Regions from separate parts of the Homo sapiens genome. Here region 1 is linked to region 2. The links are contacts of gene promoters, found by promoter capture Hi-C in human tissues and cell types (Jung and others, 2019). All regions are on one chromosome and are shown on one strand. The core of a region is centred on a gene start or on the middle of the fragment in contact, and the rest is flanking DNA. Distances in the headings are between cores, read along the strand shown. Region 1 overlaps ARFIP1 (ARF interacting protein 1). Region 2 holds the start of FHDC1 (FH2 domain containing 1).

Evidence for each region. The method cuts DNA at HindIII sites, captures the fragments that hold promoters and counts their contacts. A contact is called where the count stands out against the background at its distance.
Region 1: a contact is called between a fragment that was not itself captured here and the fragment with the promoter of FHDC1 in region 2, in 1 of the 25 tissues and cell types used here (H1 embryonic stem cells).

Annotation. Positions count from the first base shown.
Region 1 is chr4:152,783,406-152,786,541 of GRCh38, forward strand. The region is part of intron 1 of ARFIP1 (ARF interacting protein 1); the gene reads left to right. Among named protein-coding and RNA genes, the nearest start is that of ARFIP1, 5.0 kb to the left of the region's middle. The HindIII fragment of the contact is 6,067 bases long and covers 1-3,136 here.
Region 2 is chr4:152,934,209-152,937,580 of GRCh38, forward strand. It overlaps FHDC1 (FH2 domain containing 1), which reads left to right and starts at 2,115. Exons shown (of 12, transcript NM_001371116.1): 1 at 2,115-2,201. It overlaps LOC729870 (a long non-coding RNA gene), which reads right to left and starts at 2,629. Exons shown (of 2, transcript NR_136614.1): 1 at 2,441-2,629; 2 at 308-1,242. RefSeq lists a silencer at 2,071-2,160. The HindIII fragment of the contact is 7,704 bases long and covers 1-3,372 here.

The DNA of each region.
Region 1 (3,136 bases), core at 437-2,936, 150 kb before region 2:
GTTACATTTATTTGCTTACCATGTGCATTAAGCTAAGTGCTTTACATTATTATCTCAAATGATAACCTTATAAAGTGGCTAAAGTCCTCATTTCTGTAGGTGAAGAAAATAAAGCTGAATGATTAACTGAAGCTAAAGTAGTCTGCTCAGAATTGCGCTGGTGGAGCCAGTGCATGGCTCCACCTACGTTGTCTGACTCTAGACTACTACTGTAGACAACTTCTACCATGCGTCCATTATGTCCTTTTTGAAATGAGTTGGAGATATATCACCTGACTTTCTATCAGGTGTTGAGAAAAGGTTGTTTCCTTTCTTAATCTTCAGTGGATGAACATCTGGTTGAATATCATACTGAGAAGTTTGACAAAAAAGTGAATTTGGTGGAGGCAGTTGGTAGGGGTTTCCTATGGGGATGGATATAAGTCTCTGGTGTGTGTGTGTGTGTGTGTTAGAACACACACACCTACTTGAAATAAAGAATTGTAAGTATTATAAATTCTTGAAATGAAGATTCAAATAATAAGCAGATGGTGTGTGTGTATATGAGGAGGGGAAAATGTGAAAATGAAGATTATAAGTAATAAACTGGGCATTGTAAGAGTCTGGAAGTATAAATAAATTTTAGAATAATACATTTGGGATGGAAAGAATAAATTCAGAATGGAAGAAGGAGTAAATTAAACAGGAAACTTTAATATGGTTATGGATGAAAAACTAAAATATTTGTACAGAATGGAAAGTGAGTTGTTCCACTTAATATGGAAGTTGATGACTTAGGATCATGACAATCTAAAAGTCAGATATGTAGCACTACTTCTGGATGTATGAAAAAGACTATTGGCCTGAAAATAATTTTGTTTTCCTTGATCTTTAGTAGCTTTTGGCAGTCATGGAAGCTGCCGAATGGCTCTTGCAGATTAACAGATATTCTTTATGAGACAAAAGTATTTATTTTCTTTTTCTTTTTCCTTTATTCCTATTCTCCTCTTTCTCCCATCTCTCATTCCATTCTCCTCCATTCCTTCTAAGCCTTTGTCTTAGGATGGGCATAGGCAGGTGTTGCTCAAACCTTTAGTTGTTCCTGAAAAAGGAATATAAAGTCTCTTTATGAAATACACTTTTTTCCCTTAATGAACATACTTATTTAAGTGAATGCTGTTTTTCAGAGTAGGCAATCTGCTTTGAAATCTTCTTCTAGTATGACTGTCGGTTCAGATTGAGACATACAAAAATGAAGTTCTTGCCTGGCTTCGTCACTTCGTGACCTCAGTCACCAGAATCTGAATAACTTTGGGTATTTGGAAAAAATCAGATCCTCTCTTGAAAGACAAAGATTTGGGGATCTGAAGGTAGTTGCAAAACAGGCAATTGCTCAAATCTTTTGTGAAAATATGGCAGTGTCTTTACCATGTTCTCACCTAAGATAAGAATTTATATTTTATTTTTGTATATCTGTGATAGCATTGGACTAGCAGCTCCTTGATGTTGAAGCTTGAGCCTCATTGGTCCCTGGGGAACAGTGACATACTGCCTTTGGAACAGGATCATAAAAGCAGCAGAGTTAGTGGTAAGCCCTAAATCTTCCAGAGGAGGGAGTCAGTTCGCCAACTCCAGTTTCTGCTAGCCTGAGATACTCATCATGGCACACATAAAAAATGATTATAATTGTATGGCAGACTAGAGCCAGGCCCTCCTTGGTTCCTTGGAAGCTGTGGAGTGGGGGAATGGGTCACAATTTCAGCACATCTGTAATCCATTCTTGGCACACTGTTTGGAAATCTTTGCCCTAGAGAAAAGGAATATGTTACTCTGTTTAATACCTTCTGTTTGTTTAGCATGTAATAATTTACAAAGCACTTTCACATACATCCTCATTTTATTTTTACTCCAGCCATACCAAATAGGTAGAGCAGATAACATCACCACATTAGAAATAAAGAAATTGAGATTTAGGTAAAGTGCTTTGTCCAGGGTCACATACCTAAAAAGGGATGGATCAGGAATTTATACCCTCAGTGGAAAGAGCCCCTGGGTTTAAGCCCGTGATCTGTAATCTCTAAAATGGCCAGGACCTTATCTGTTTTGTTTCAGTGCTATATATTGCCCAGGGTGGTCTTGAACTCCTGGGCTCAAGCGATCTTCCCGCCTTGGCCTCCCAAAGTGCTGGGATAACAGGCATGAACCACTGCATCCAGCATAAGTATTATAAATTCTTGAAATAAAGATTCAAGTAATAAGCAGAAAATGGAAAGGATGTTTTTTCTATTCCTCTAATCTCTCCACCCACCACACCTCTCTCCCAGTTAATTTGAAAAGTAGGTATTGGGGAATCAGATGAAATATATGAGAAAGCTGTAAACCTGCACTGTCTAATGCCAGGGATGCTAGCCACATGTAGCTATTTAAGTTAGTTAAAATTAAATACAATAAAAGATTCAGTTCCTCATTGTACCAGCCACATTTCAGTGTCAGTATCATATGTGGCTGGTGGCTACTTTATTGGACAGTGCAAATTTAGAACATTTCCAACAACATTGGCCAGCCCTGATAAAACTTTAAAATGCGACATGATATGATGTGATACATAATTCCTATATTGTTGAACCACGAGTTTAAAAATCTGCTACCCATGGTGCCTAGCAGTTTTTGTTTTAGCTGATGAAATGTTATTGCCATGTTCTCTCTCAGCTTTTTGTTTTAACTAAATCCAGATGGTCAAAGTCTAAGTCTAACATTTTTCTTGGATATTTGGGGATTATAGTTAGCTGCTTTTCTAGGATAAAGATGTCAGCTTCATTAAGGGCATGAGTGTTTTCTGTCTGCTTTGAGCTGTAGATCTGTATGTCTTGCTGTCTTGTTGACATCCTTTCTTGAATATCTTAAAGGTATCTCAAATCCAGTATGTCTAAAATGAAACTGATTTCCCCTTCCCTCCCTACAAAACTGCACAACGTTGGTTCTTTCTTTGTTCCTTTTTTCAGTGAATGACACAATTATCTTTTCATTGTAAAATCCAGAAAACTAGAAGTGATCCTTAATTCCCTCTCCCTGATAGATCCAATGATTGAACAAGTTTTTAAAGTCTTACTTTCTACATGACTCTTGAATTTTTCTATTTCTTCCTGTTTCCACTACT
Region 2 (3,372 bases), core at 865-3,364:
CAGCAAATTTAGCAAATACTTGAATTTTAAAGAATTTAAGAGAGACAAGCAAAGGAAAAGCTAGGATTTCAAACAGAAAAACCAGGTCTTAGGTAAAGAGGGGGAGGTGGTGGGTGTGGGAAGAGTACTAGTTTTGAGGGAAAGATGAGTTGATTTTTGGATATTTTTATTTGGACTTGAAATTTTACAACGATAATATGGATTCAAGAGTCCCTGACATTGAAGAGAAACCCGGAGATATACCTTGAAGCTCAAATTTCCAAGCCCCTCATTTTCCCTGGGCCCTTCCAAGGATACATGTCTAGTATTATGTTTGTAAGTTTTTATTGCTTTCCTTTAAGAAGTTCCCCCAGGAGTTATACAAGCTTCAGGTCCCACGACATCTGGATGGGTTCAGTTTGAAATCAGAAGGTATTTCTTTGGGATACTGGGAGATCGAGAGTTGGAAAAACCTTGTTACTGTCCTCAAAGGAAGAGAAGGGTCAGCAGAGAAGTCCAGAGAAGCATAGAGAAGGCCTTAGGGTAGGATGCTGCCAAGGAGATCAAAGGGATGAGGGGCTGAGAATGGGTCACCAGACTTGACTTCTCAAAAAGTAACTGTTTTAGAGTGCATGCTCAATACAGTTGGGGGGAGGCCCACTGTCACGGGGTTGAGGAGGGAGGAGTAGGCAAGGGGTGTGGACTCCCCATTTAACAAGGTCGACAGTAAGAGAAAAGAAGATGCCACTCAACTCCTCACTTTCGATCTGCTGTAATTTAACTTGAGCCTGAACAGTCAATATTCCTTTGGGATTCATATTAGCTCCCTGAGCATGACATTGTCTTTCTCTTTATTACATTTTCTTATTCCTTAAGATTTTAAGATTTTCTTAATTGGATCCATTTCTCTTCATGCACCATCAATGGCCAAGAAATGGGCTATTGGCAGGCACAGTTTTGGTTTTGGGGTTGATTGGTTTGTTTACACTAATAGTTTCTCTTTCTCGATCCAAGGCTTGACCAAGGAGGTCAGGAATTCTGTCCTGGGAGTTCAGGGACTGAGGACCAGGATGGAGGAAGCAAAAGGCGTCAGGCATTAGGCTGGAAACGTCTTGGTCGGTTATCTAGGATCAAAGAGTCAAAGGTAGCGATGACTTCATCCCCGTAGAGGGCGCCTCCCTACCCCGACAGTGGATTTTCGGTCAGCCGGTTTGCCCGGGATGTTTTCTTTGACTACTTGCTTCTCACTGGCGCCCCAAGTCACTTTGAAGAAAAAAAAAATGTGATTAAATCGATTCCCCTGTTTCTTTCTGTGAGGAGTGTGCCTTTCCCAGACAGCGTGCGTTCATTCGATGAGGCCTGGCAAAATTTTTGAGGGGTCTTTTTACGCTTTAATACAACCTAAAGGTTTCTGTTACCATCATCATTGAGAATTAAAAACAAAAACAAAATAAAAAACGGTAACAAATTTACAGCTTGGCAGGCCCCAGGGAGGAGCTGACCTTTGCGAAGCTCTAGCGCAGCCAGGTTTCAGCTGTAGGGGTTGGGACAGGTCAGTTCGCCCAAGTGCTGCTAGCTCTCCAGGGAGAAGCAAGTGTTGGGGCAGAGGGTGGTCTGGCGCGTGCGTCGGGGGGCGTGTGCGGGTGTGTGTGTGTGTGTGCGCGCGTGTATATAAGAGTGTGTGCGCGCCCGTGTGCACAAGAGAGGGTGCCTGGGAGGCTGTCGCAAAGGCTCCTTTGTGAAAGGCACTTGCAGGTTCAGAAGCCAGCTTGGCGCCTCCTCTCGCCCGTTCCCCGAGGACACCTGGCTCTTCTGGGCAGCCCAGCTATCTCCGTCTCCTGCCGCCCCTACTTCTCTCGGTGGCCCCCGGCCTAGCCCCGCACCAGCCTTCGGGTGCGGGAAGCAGTGTGCCCCGAGGCGTCTCCCCCGGGGCCCCGCGCAGGTGAAGGTGAGCGCGTGGCGGTGACGGTGGCGCGCGTAGGGTGGAAGGGGAGGCGAGGGAGGGGCGGAGCAGGAAAGGGCGCGCTGCCCTTCCCGGCCGGCCAGGAGCAGCGAGGCCGCAGCTTTGTTACCTGAGGCTGCCGCTGCGCCCCGCCCCGCCCTGCCCCCTCGCGCTCAGGGTTGGCTGGGCCTGCAGTGACCGGGAGGAGGCGGCTACGCCGACACAACGGCGGGAGGCTGCAGCGGTCTGCGCGCCGGGAGCGGGGGCGCGCTGGCCGCGGGTGAGTGCGGGTCGGGCGGCCGAGGCGGGGGCGACCGCGGCGCGGGACACGGGGAGCTGGAGCCCCGCCGCTCGGGAGGGTCAGGGTTGGGGTGTTGTCCGGGACCCGAGGCTGAGGCGCCGAGAAGCGCGGCTGATGGGTGCCGGGTCTCGGCTTCCTCCGAGCCTCACCGGGAAAGCTGGAGAGGAGGTTCCAGTTCCCTCCACATCCACCCCGGTGACTTTGGCGGCCGCCCTTACCCGGCCACGGAGAACAGCGATCGGTCCCTGGAGGCGAGGACGCGCCGGTGTGGACCCGCGTCTGGAGAACGAGCTGCATCGCCAAGGCTGCTGCGGGTCGCACCTGGGCGGTTGACTATTAGTCGTGGCTAAGACTTTCAGATCAACCGCCCCCTAGTTTATCCCGACCCTTGGGAGACAGCGGCGTCCCGCACGGAATGCGCAGCCGCGGCGCCGCGCTCGGTTCCCTAGCCAGCCGGGGGCCACGCCTGGCCCCTGACACAGTGGTGGGGCGGTGGCGGGGACCTAGTGCGGTGGTGCGGACCGAGGACCAGGCGCTTCTCGCCCCGACAAACTTGCTCCGGCCGCGCGAAGTTCGGATTGCAAGTTGCGCCCCGCGCCTGCAGGAGTGTGGGGAGGGGGAGGAAGCGGGTGGGCTGGGGATCAGCCTCCAAACAAGGGGTGTCCCCAGCTCTTGGAGAGCGGGTTCTGACCGGTTTCAAACGCCAGGAGTCTCCCCTCTGTTTTTCTCAGCGGCTCGACCCGGCTCCCTTTTGGCAGAGCCGCAGTGCGGCCGTGAGGCTTTTCCCCCGCGCCTGCGACCTGGATGGGGGACGTGGGAAGATGTCGCGGCGGAGGCTCCGGGTGGGTTGGGAGCGCGCGGCCGCCGCAGACCCGGTGTCTGCGAGCCGGAAGACCCCCCCTTTCGTTTCATTCACACGGACACCTCCCCTAGTTAGCCGTCTCCCACCCAACTTCTGGGCGCAGCGTGCTAAACCCCCGCAGAGGGGCTGGCGCCCTGGGGGGCGTGGCGTGGGGAGCGTGGGCTTTCCAGCGTGGGCCCCTCGGGGAGGGGGGCGGGGCCGAGACCCCCTCCAACTGGAGGGGCCGGGAATGGGCGAGCGGGTGCGGCGGCCGACCCAGCAGCTGCAGCCGCCGGACGGGAGAGCGGT